Linked DNA regions of Homo sapiens: region 2 is linked to region 1. Evidence: promoter capture Hi-C in 16 types of primary human blood cells and fetal thymus (Javierre and others, 2016). All regions are on one chromosome and are shown on one strand. The core of a region is centred on a gene start or on the middle of the fragment in contact, and the rest is flanking DNA. Distances in the headings are between cores, read along the strand shown.

Region 1 (5,688 bases), core at 1,020-3,519:
GGACCCTCCCTCAAGCCAACCAGTTGGGGATGGGATGGGGGTGGGTGGCAGGCCTCTCCCAACCCCTGTAACAGGCCTCCTAATCACCAAGGGGTTCCTTGAAGAGTTCCTGGGCTGGGTGAGGTGTGGAGAGACCTAATACATTCCATCTCATCAGCCACCCACAGGCAGGGCCAGAGGGTGCCACTGGTGCCTCCTCTCCCAGGTCAAATATTAACTATCTGGCCTTGGAAAGAGGGGAGGAATCAGGAACTGGCCAGAGGGATAACAGGAGCAATTATTCAAGAGGTAAAGGTCAGCACTGCAGGGGCAGAGCCCTGAGGGGTAGAGTCAAATATGAAAGGGAGAGAAGAGGATTCCCTGACCCTGAAAGGGCATAGGCTCCCTGTTTGGGATCTGGGACAGCAGGAAGCTTCAGGCAAGCCGGCCATGCCCCACCCCTCCCTGTGGAGGCACACCTGTTTACCTTTGGGACCTCCTATTTGCTCAGTGCAAAAGGCATGTGTGTGGGGAGCACTATGGCTAGGAGGAACATGCCCCAGGTTAGAGGAGCCACTCAGTGTGGTGCATGTCACACTTATAGTTTAAGAGTCACATGGGTGACTATTAGGAAGGTGATATACATGCACATGGGTGCACACACACACACACACACATGTTCACAAGGAGGACTGTGAACACGTGGATTCACAGGGGTCATTCACACATATACTCACAGGGAGTTTTGTGCACACATATGCTCATACAGAGGGCCACAGCCACAGGTAATCATACATATTCACATGTGACGTTGAATTTACATGCCCATCCATTCAGCAGGTCACACAGCCTCAGACATTGAGGAGAGATAAACCCACACATGTGGGTTTGTGTCAAGGACTGTGCACCTATTCAACAGGAGGGTCCTATACATACACATGTATGTGTAGGGACATGCACACAAACCCATTGATATAGTGGGCCAGGCAATCATGTTCACAGAAGGGTCAAGTACATGTGTGCTCACACGCAGTTCTTGAACACACAACTACATCCATGCAGAGACAAGCACACATGCATACAGGGGTCCAGTTTTTGCCATAGGCTTGGAGGCTGCCAGTGTCCACTGGGGTGAGATGCAGAGCAGAACCCTGCCTCTGTTCCTGAAAGTCCCAATTCTAAGGCCCAATTTCAAGTGTGTGTTTGTGTGTGGGGGTGGTGAGGGGGTTGTGTGTGTGTGTGTGTGTGGTGATGGGGGAGGCTTCTGACCTTGGATGGGCAGATGGGATGGGTGCATGAGTCAAGGCCGCTCTACAAGGGAGGGAATGGGAAAGTAACTCAGGCAGGAGGAGGCCCCTAGCTTCAGCAAAGATGGAATGGAACGCATAATTTAGTACTCCTCCACCCCTATGTATATTGCGGTTCTAAAGGTGGGAGACGGGCTGGAGCTCTCAGCCCCCACTTAACCTGTGGGAGGGGGCGGGGCTAAGTGGGCGGGGCGGAGCATATCACCCCTCCCTTCAGTGGCGAAGTACGGGTTTAAGGTCTCCAGTCCACGCCCCACACTCCACCCCAAGTTCCACAGTTCGGGTTCTTCCCCAGGGCCAGCCCCCTGAACTCTGATCACCTTTCCTCTATTAGATCTTGGGGTGGAGGGAACTGGGGAGGAGAGACCCTTCAAACAGGATCAATGGAGGATCAGCAGGCTCTCGACCTTCATCCCAGATGTCCACCTGCCTAGTGTAGGCGGTATTTCCCTCTGCCTAGTAGGATGGCGGTCTCTCCTGGCTTGAGAGAGCCCCTCCCCCGGGACCCCCTCCCTCCAACATCCTGGACAGTCCGCGGTCCTCTCCCTTCGTCAGGTCTAACCTCAGTCTCTACTGCTGCAGCTCGAGGACAAGCTCTCCTTCGATCCCGCCGGACGCCGGGAGACGTGACCCAGATCCTGGGGAACACTGTTCGCCACGCGGCCCCCTCCCCGCGCTGGTCCCCGACTCCGTGGTGGCCGGTTTGCACCCCGCGCAGCCCGAGGCCTGGCCCGCGCCCCTCTAGAGCCGTCATGCAGGACCGGGGGACTTGGTGGTGAGAAAGGCCTGGCCCAGCTTGGAGGGTAGAATGGACGTGGGGGAGGCCTTGCCCGACCCCCGGCCCGCAGCCCCAGGCTCACGCCAGGGCGCCGCCCGCACTCCTCGCCTTGCTCACCTTTGCGCTCGGATCCGGGGCCATAGAGACAGCGACGCGCGGCTCCGCGGCCCCACAGCACCAGCTGCGAGAGGAAGGGGCCGCGGCTGGAGGCGGGGCGGGGGGGGGGTGGTGGAGGCGGAGCCGGGGGTGGGGCGGGGTCCTGAAAGGCGGGGCCGACTGGGTGGGGTGAGGGGAAGGTCGCCACTCTCTTCTTTGCGCCCCCTACTCTAGCACAATAGAGGCGGTTTGAGGGCGAGGCTCACACACAGCCTTCGGCCATCGGGCGACCCCCCACCTCTAGGCGCTGCGGCCCTGAAATCGCCCCCTGGTGGTGGCCTCGCCACCCCGTGCACCCTCCACATGCTTATAGCCCGTCCTCTCCTCCGCTGTAACCCTAGGACCCCCCTGACTTGCCTACTGCTGGGGACGTGCAAACCTGTCCTGGCGTTGCGGGGTTGGGGGACCCTCTCGGAGGGCCTTCTGGCCTGTCCTCTAACCTGGACCTCACTCCCTGTGCTCCTGCCACCCGCTTCTGCTCTCGGCCTAGGGTGTGGAGGGAAGGCTACCCTAGGTGGCGACTGGACGTTAGGGAAGCTCTGAACACAAGGTAGGGGCTTGATTCCCAGCTTCAGGGGCTGTTCAGCTTGAGCTATGCGTGGGGGAGATGGGGTCAGGCCTGAAGGGGATAAAGTAACAGCCTGACCTGAAAGGCACACAGAAAATGCTTTTTCTGGATAAATAAGCCACAAGCGTTTGCACCTGTTCACTCACCAAATCTTAACCCTAACCTAGGCTCACCTCAGGGACTGGGTCATTCAAACACTTGCCTTCCCCTCCAGCTCATCTTGGGCACCATTCTTATCCAGAACTTAGAGTGCACCCTTCTAGGCAATCAAGTACCCTATCCTTCCCAGATTCAATCACCTTACCCAGCAGCAATCTAGGAAACCCCTCACAATCAACTCCCCAACTCCTTTAACTCAACTAGGATGGTCCTTCTGTGCAAACTTGGTTCCTGCCTCCTTTAATAGGTCACAGCCTATTAAAGTGAACTTAGCCCCTATAGTCCAAACAAAACCTGCATTCAGGCCCTGACCCAGCCTGGTCCTTCCTCCTCCATCCATGACAGTATTCATGTGGGCTCAAGAGATGGACCAAAATGATAAAGGCCACAGGAACATATGTGATTGACTCTTGCATGTGCCTAGGAGTCAGAACAGGATTCAAGTGGCACATTTAACTAAAGGAAACTTGGGAAAGGCTTCATCCTTCTTTCTGGATTCCCCAAAGCTCACAGTTTGGCACTGAATCATATACAATCTCGTAGTTTGGATGGCTGTGTGTGACTGCAGACTGCTAGACAGCAGGGCCCACATCACAGTTCCACCTCCCCCAACACTCTGCAAATAGGATGTGTGTGGCGGGGAGAGGGAAGGTAGCTGGGGAGAAACACAATAAAAAATGTACACACACTTTTACAAAGAATATCCTGCTTCATTTTTTATTTGTACCCTCATCCCATCCTGAGGAATTTATAGCCCCATTTTATGGATGGGGAAACAGGCTCTAAGACATTAAGTAACTTGCCTTGAAGTTCATTCTTGTGTTTATGGAGAGGACAATCAAGACTGGAAAAGTCTGAGAAGGAGGAAGCAGGGTAAGCCAGAAGGGGAAATACCATTGGCAAAGGTAGAAATGTTCAAGCTTATGCACAGGCTTGTGTTGGGGAACTAAGGAAGGGGCATGAAAGAGGGCAGTGAGTTTGATTTGATGAAATGGCTGGGGGGGGGGGGGGGGCGGGGAGGGGTTCCTAGTGGGAAATAAAAGGGAAAAGTCAGCTAGTAGTTTGAAAAAGACCACAGAAGAAAATCCTGAAAGAGATGATGGACTGAGTAAGGACGTCTGAGGTGGGAAGACCAGTCAAGGCAGGGCTAAGAAAGATAAATCTGCAGTCCTTATCAAAAAGTGGGTTGGTGGTAACAGTGGAGGCAGGGTAGGAAGACTGCTGGTCCTTCAGTAGCAGATAGGAGAGCAATTAAACTGTAGGGGCCCAGGGGGCTAAGAGGCACAGCTTCCCAAATGTTCACAGAACCTGCAGTGCTGACTTCAGATAGCTCTGGAGGTGGCGAGTAGGCCAGTGTGGTAGGCTCAGTATCACTCAACTTCACTTTATGAACCAAGCTTTGCTCCTCTGAGGTGCTGATGGCAAACTCAGACATTGTTAAATGAGCAAAATGTGTGATTTCAATGATCACTGGGCAGTTACTTCAGTACTTTTGATAGCAGACCACAATCCATTTCCTTCTGCTAGCCTCCCAGTAAAATCTCTAAACCTAATGAGAGTATCAGATGTAAAAGCAATTAATGGAGCTGCCCATAGGAAGCCCTTTTGATTGACAGTATGTCTCTCTGCAAATCCAGCTGGTAAAATAAGAACGGGGGAATACTGACAGACAGTGGAAAAGAAAACTGGAAATCAACTAAAGAAATTAACCCTAACCCAGCCATAAATCTGCATCCTGGGACACAGGCAGGTCATTCTTTGAACAGGCTGTCACTCATCCATAAGGTCACTACCCTGGCTGCTTCGCAGGGTGGCTGTGAGAGGATTCCATTTGGAAACCTTCTGGAGAACTTCACACACACAGAAAAGTATGAGTTTTGTTTTTGCTAGTCTATTTTCCCCAACTTTGCTGTAAGAAAGTGGCTGAGGGTAGTGCTGGCCGTCTTCAGCAGTGATTGTCAGCCACTTACACACCAGAGTTTAGCTCCACTTTGCACAGAACAGTTACTTACTGTAGCAGGGATCCTAGGTGAAGGGGGTGGGTATGAATTCCTGAAACTTGAGCAGGTTCCCTGAAGCAAGAGAACTCTGGCCTAGTCAAGTTGTCCTGCTTACTGTTCAATGTGGCAGCATTTCTGTTCCTGCTTTGCCATCTCCATCTCTGGTTTGCCCAGCACTTTCCCTTTAGGTGGTGTGGTCTTTATTTTGGCTATATATACAGCTGAGGTGCTTCTTCTGTAGGGGCTGTCACCAGTGCAACAATGCGGAAGTCTCACTATTCCACTGTGCCTCAGAAGCCTGTTTAGTTTTCCTCCCAGCCAGTCGTCTTGGAGTCAGACCCAAAGCTGGGCCTTCTGGTTTGCCCTCTCTTGACTCCAGCCTAGGGAATGGTTAGTAAGGGAAAGGGAGTGTCAGGACATTCCCACAAATGCTGGAAAACCACCACCCATCACCAATTTCTCAGCTTTAGCATGCTGGCTTTTAAAAAGTGAAAATTTTAATTAAAAAAAATCAGCAGAGATAGCTGGACAGAGAAGCTCCAGCTCCCGGTATCCAAAGAAATAGGGCACACTTACAACTATAATTTTTGGAGATATGGTTTGCTCAGATGTCAGTACACCCTGAGGTGTCTGCTTAAGATCAAATCTGTCATCAGAGAAACGCCTCGTTAGAGCAGCAAGCATTTGCTGAGTTCTTGCTATATGCCAGGCACTGTACTAGGCACTTTTCATGCATTAGCT
Region 2 (5,688 bases), core at 1,041-3,540, 410 kb after region 1:
GGTCGGGGGCCCCAGGCTCTTGCGCGGCCCCACAGACCCTTGCGTCAGAAGAGTGGCCCCCCGCGCCATGGGCTCTGCGGCCAGGAGGCCACGTGCGACGTCGCTCAGGCCGGAACACGTGGCTCCAGCAGAAGCCACATCTGGATTCTACACGTGCTGGGCTGCGGGCGAGGTTCTTCCACACCACAGGCGTCTTCTTGCCACCCAGGAGACCTGGGCCGGCAGCTTCCCTGCAGTGCGGGGCCCACGGGCTCCCCGCAGTGGGGAGTGCGAGAAACGCAACTGCGACCTCGCCGCGCACTCCGCTTCCGCCATTGGCTCAGGATCCCTGCGTGGAGCGAGGGCGCCACGCTGCGACTGCAGCAGGGACGGCACGTCCCAGGGGAGAGCGCGGGAAATATGGTGCGTGAGGTCCCAATTTCCAGGTTCCCTCCCACCTCAATGACTCGTTTTATAGCCGCCCCCTCAGGCTGACCTCTACCCTAGACCCCGTCTAACTAATCGCTAATCCCCTGACCTCAGGAAGGCCAGGGATGAGAGTCACAGGCCAATGCCTCTGGGCAGCCATAGGAAGTGAGGAAATGCAGACCCCAAATTTTCCCCTAAATCCTAGAAATATGCTCCAGATAAAAGTCTTTGCCTGGGTTCAGATTCTAGACTCCTGTCCTTCATTCCAGAAATTTCAGCACCATAGAATCACTGGCAAGTCTCGGACAGTATTCAGGCCCACTGCCATGGTGGCTTCCTATCAAAAATATTCTCATTTGTCACTGACCTTAGCAGGGGAAAAGACCTCAGAATTGGACCCAGTGCTCAGAGGTGGCCTGACCATCTCAGAAAGCAGTGGGGTAACACCTCCCTTGATCTGGCTGCTCCGTTTGGTTAATGCAATTCATGGCTGTGTTAGGATTTTAGCAGTCACATCACACAGTTGACTCATATTGAGCTTGCAGTCAACTAAACCCCCCAGGTCTTTTCTTCATGAACTGCTGTCAAGCTGGGCCAACCCCTACAACCGGTACTTATGTCATTGATTTTGTTTTAACCTAAGTGCAGGACTCTACATTTATCCCTGTTAAGTTTAATCTTGTTGGTTCCAGCCCAGTGTTCCAGCCTGTTGAAATCGTTTTGAATCCTGACTCTTTCATGCAAAGTATTAACTGCCCCTCCTAGCTCTATCACCTGCAAACTTGATGAGCCTGCTGCTTCGGTCAGTTGTCAATAAAAATGTCAGAGAGGACACAGGCCCAGACTGAGCCCTAAGGCATACTGCTGGAGACTTCCCTCTAGTCTAGGCTGACATGGATCCATTAATCAACCCTCACTGGGTCTGACTGTTCACCAAGCTTCCTAGCCATTTGGTTCAGATGCTTCTGCCACAACTAGATAACATGAGAGGCTTTGTCAGAAATTTGTCAGAGGCTTTGCTGGAAATTTCTCTTGCCCAGGCTGTGGCCCCCACATCAAGCTTAGGCCTTCTTTCTACCCTCCACACCCCACCATCATTTGTTTACTCATAACTTTAGGGGATTATATTTCCAATGGTGCCCCCTCCTGCATGACTTAATATTTCTGAGCTTCAGGATCACCTTGGGTGTGCCTTTGCTATTTCATATCCCATCATCCTATGCCTCCTCTGAGACCTCATTCTCTTAAATTCTCTGTCCTGCCACCTTCTCTGCCTATAAATGTGCAGTGGCCTCCCTTGCCTAAAAAGCTCTCTACTAGCTGCCCCCTTAAACTGTGGTTGGCTTCTGCCTCTGTCCTTCTTTTGAAAATCCAAACACTTCCAAACTCACCTTTCATGTCTCCTAAGCCTTTAGCAATCTGGGCTGCCAATCTCTCAGCTGAGCAACCATATTGCCCAAGCAGTGGACAGTGATGGTGGAGATAGAAGCAGAAGATTCACAACCACATCACAAAGATCAGATATGGTGGCTGCATAAAGCAGAGAGCCCAGGACCCCTCACAGACCAAAGTCAGGCTGCGGTCAAACTAGGCAGGTGACCAGAATGTTCAAAAGGACTGAGACATGAGGTCAGAGCCTAGGCAAAGTGCCTGGTCACAGACAAGAGCAGTGAACACTGAGAAGCCTGAGCCTGGGGACTTCTTACACAGTTGCTATAGGGGTTGGAATCAGTCCTGGAGCCAGGTCAGCTGGGAAGACAGCCTGGCTGGAGGGGGGAATGATGTGAACAGAGAGAGGTAGGGCCTACACTTTTCCTGAGCCCTTATTCTAGGCTGCCCAGCATCAGTTGTTAGCAACTCCAGAGTGCCTCAAGTTCAGGGCCATACCCTCAAATATCTATGTGGGCCAGACAGGTCACGTGAGTGAGATCTAGGGTACAACAGTGAAGAGTGGAGATTGACAAACTGAAAGGAACACAGCCAAGGGGGCAGTTGCTCTTCAGCTCCAGCCAACTGCTGTCACATGGGAAAGGCGATTTCATTACTGCCAGATCTGATTTTCCAAAGAGAGAAATCTTTTTAGGTCAAGTTTCTGATCTTTAATGTTGTCAATTTTTTAAAACTTTCAAAAACTTGTATTGGCCAAACAAAACCATGTCTGTGGCCGACTGGACTAGCGGTGGCCATCTTTTAACGGCTGCTAGTTACGTGGTACTTGTAGAGGCTAAGTGACTTGGGTGTGTGGTAATATTACATTTAGAACCCACTCTCTGAGTTTCTTAATGTCAATGAGAGTGACTTTGGGTTATATAGAAACAATTTATATTCATAAATTACTTTGGTTAAAAAATATATTCAAGGCCAGGCACAGTGGCTTATGCCTGTAATCCCAGAACTTTGGGAGGCTGAGGCAGGACTGCTTGAGCCCAGGTGTTCGAGATCCGCCTGGGCAATGAAGTGAGGCCCCTGTCTCTACAAAAAATAAAAAATTAGCCAGGTGTGGTGGCATGTGCCTGTGATCCCAGCTACATGGGAGGCTGAGGCAGGAGGATCACTTGAGTCCAGGAGGTTGAGGCTGCAGTGAGCCATGCTTGCCCCACTGCACTCCAGCCTGCGTCGAAAAGCAATGCCCTGTCTCAGAAAAGAGCAAACTATTCACCTCTTCAAAGTTACATATCCAAAATCCTCTCTTTTCTAAGCTTTTAAGTTCTGCTAACAAATCTTATTATTTTGCTTATAAAACAAAAAAGTTTAATGTTTGATCCAACTTACATTTAACTAAACTCCTTTAAACACTTAAATGGCATTTATATGATTAATGTATTTGATTTCCTTAAGTACTTAATTTATCTGACCAAGACAAAACCTGATCAAGTACTTATATTTCCAATAAATTAAGTTTATAAATACAGGAAATCTTAAGTTGTTCTAAATGTTCTAAAACTACAGAAAGACTTAGCAATGATTGTACCACTGTACTCCAGCCTGGGCAACAGAGTGAGACTCCGTCTCAAAAAAAAAAAAAAGAAACTTAGCAAAATTTCAACTTAAAATTCGAGTATAAATACACACTTTTTAGTTGGCATTACAAAGCAAACCTGTTACTCTCACAAATGCTCTTCCATATGTCAAGGACTTAAAATACAAACTGCATAGATCCTTACAGCAAATAGTAATGATGTGGGGGTTTGATGTTTTTAAACACACCTGTTCTTCATCCTAAGTCCTCCATCATTAAAAGATGCACACCTACCAAGGAAACACCTGATGCCACTGCATGTATTTTGGAGGTTATCTTCTCAGATGACTGAGATTGCAGAACAACCAGATATGTTGGTTGGGCCACTGACTAGACTGTGAAAGGACCCAGAAAGTGCTATTTGTGGCCTCATAAAGCCCTATCACATGGCCTCCATTACATAAAAAGGCAGTCAGTCAGCTCACATCCCTGAGTTTGACGCTATTCAGGGCCTAACTGCACTTTCTCACAGAAGTCTAGAATCCCATCTAGGCTGTCAGATACCTTGTCTCAGTGGCAAATTTCCTTGGCTGTCAAAACACAAAATGTCTTCTCATCTTGATGATTTCTGCTTTTTATTTCTAGGTGAACCACTGCTCTTAAGAGTGTTTGTTTTTTCAAGAGATGGGGTGTCACTATGCTGCCTAGGCTGATCTCAAACTCCTGGCCTCAAGCTTCCTCCTGACTCAAGCCTCCCAAAGTGTTGGGATTACAAGTGTGCACGACTGTGCCTAGCAACTCTTAAGTTTTTCAGATGAAACCTGGTTGAATGCAGGATTGCTGTAACAACTTTGACTTCTGGTCACAATTCCTAAGGTTCTCCTGACAGAATGCTGGCCTCCTCACCCTTAGTTCAGGGTCTTGTCCTCCGCTCCTCATTGCCTATCATCGTTTAGCTTTCCCCTCTAGAACACCCATCTTCTTTCTTGAGACTCTCACCTCTTAGCATCACCCTTTCTGCACCACACCCCCATGCCAACGATTCCCAGAGGTCCCTACTCCATCTCCAGTACTGTGGAGTCCTGCTCCCTTCTCCATGATTCTTCCCCATTCACACTCATGCTCCCTCTTACAGAACTGATCTCTCCTCAGAAAAGGGAAATCTGATGTTACTTGTTCACACTAAGACATGCACAGTTGAGTCCTCCTGTTTATGCTGGGTAAACGATGCTTCCTAAGAAGAAATGGAGGAAAAGAAACTAACATTTACTGAGCACTTACTAGGCACTAAGTTCTGAATTAACTTAGTTAGTTAATGAGTTGTCTCATTCATTCTCAATAGCCACATAAGAGGACCTATTAAGAAATCCAGGGCCAGGTGTGGTAGCTCGCACCTGTAATCCCAGCACTTTGGGAGGCCAAGGCAGGCAGATCACCTGAGGTCGGGAGTTCGAGACCAGCCTGACCAACATGGAGAAACCCCATCTCTACTAAAAATACAAAATTAGCCAGGCATGGTGGCGCACGCCTGAGTCCCAGCTACTCGGGAGGCTGAGGCAGAATTGCTTGAACCTGGAGGAGGTGGAGGTTGCAGTGAGCCAAGATCACGCCACTGCACTCCAGCCTGGGCAACAAGAGCGAAAACTCCATCTCAAAAAAACAAACAAACAAAATCTCCCGAAACCCCCACTCCCAATATCTCAACAACCAGCATTTATATAGTGCTCAGTTTACATAGTATTTCCACACACATTGGCAGGTCATCATATTATTAACCAATTTTTTTAAATGAGGGGACCGAAGCATAGCGAGATGAACACCCCCAAAGGCACCCAGCCTGTGCAAAGTCCACTGACATTCTCACTTAGGTTCACTGGCCAGAAGCTTGTGTTCTCTCCACTCAGCCACACTGTGTCCTCCACAGACATCCTCCTGCCCCATTTCCTTTACTCTTCTGGGAATCAGATGGCAACCCAGAACCAAGGTCTCTGTTCCTGTTCCTCAAGACCCTGCCCTATTAAACCCTTTCTGTCCCCAGCCCAGCACTTCATGGACTTTCAGTCCCTTCCACAACTTTATCTTTTCCATCTTGCTTTTCCTGCCCCAGTCATCTCTTCTGTGATTTCACTTCAAGCACCATTATCTTGAGAGTCAGAGTAGGATCAGAAAAGCCTTGCTGCTGTAGTCTCTCCAGACACTAAGGAAACACTTTTCAGAGACACTTGGTCTTCATAATAAAACATTTTCCTGAGTGCTTGAGCCAGGTGTTTTAAAAACATTATCACGAGCCCTTATAACAATGCTACAAGTTATGTGCTATT

The links. The method cuts DNA at HindIII sites, captures the fragments that hold promoters and counts their contacts. A CHiCAGO score of 5 or more calls a contact.
Region 2: a contact is called between a fragment that was not itself captured here and the fragment with the promoter of SEMA4G in region 1, in 1 of 17 cell types (fetal thymus). The highest score is 5.5, in fetal thymus.

Annotation. Positions count from the first base shown.
Region 1 is chr10:100,966,085-100,971,772 of GRCh38, reverse strand. SEMA4G (semaphorin 4G) reads right to left here and starts at 2,269. Exons shown (of 15, transcript NM_017893.4): 1 at 2,182-2,269. RefSeq lists silencers at 2,253-2,312, 5,647-5,688. The HindIII fragment of the contact is 3,455 bases long and covers 415-3,869 here.
Region 2 is chr10:100,556,795-100,562,482 of GRCh38, reverse strand. It overlaps HIF1AN (hypoxia inducible factor 1 subunit alpha inhibitor), which reads right to left. Exons shown (of 8, transcript NM_017902.3): 8 at 2,485-5,688. Among named protein-coding and RNA genes, the nearest start is that of HIF1AN, 24 kb to the right of the region's middle. RefSeq lists enhancers at 98-177, 1-574. The HindIII fragment of the contact is 1,639 bases long and covers 1,471-3,109 here.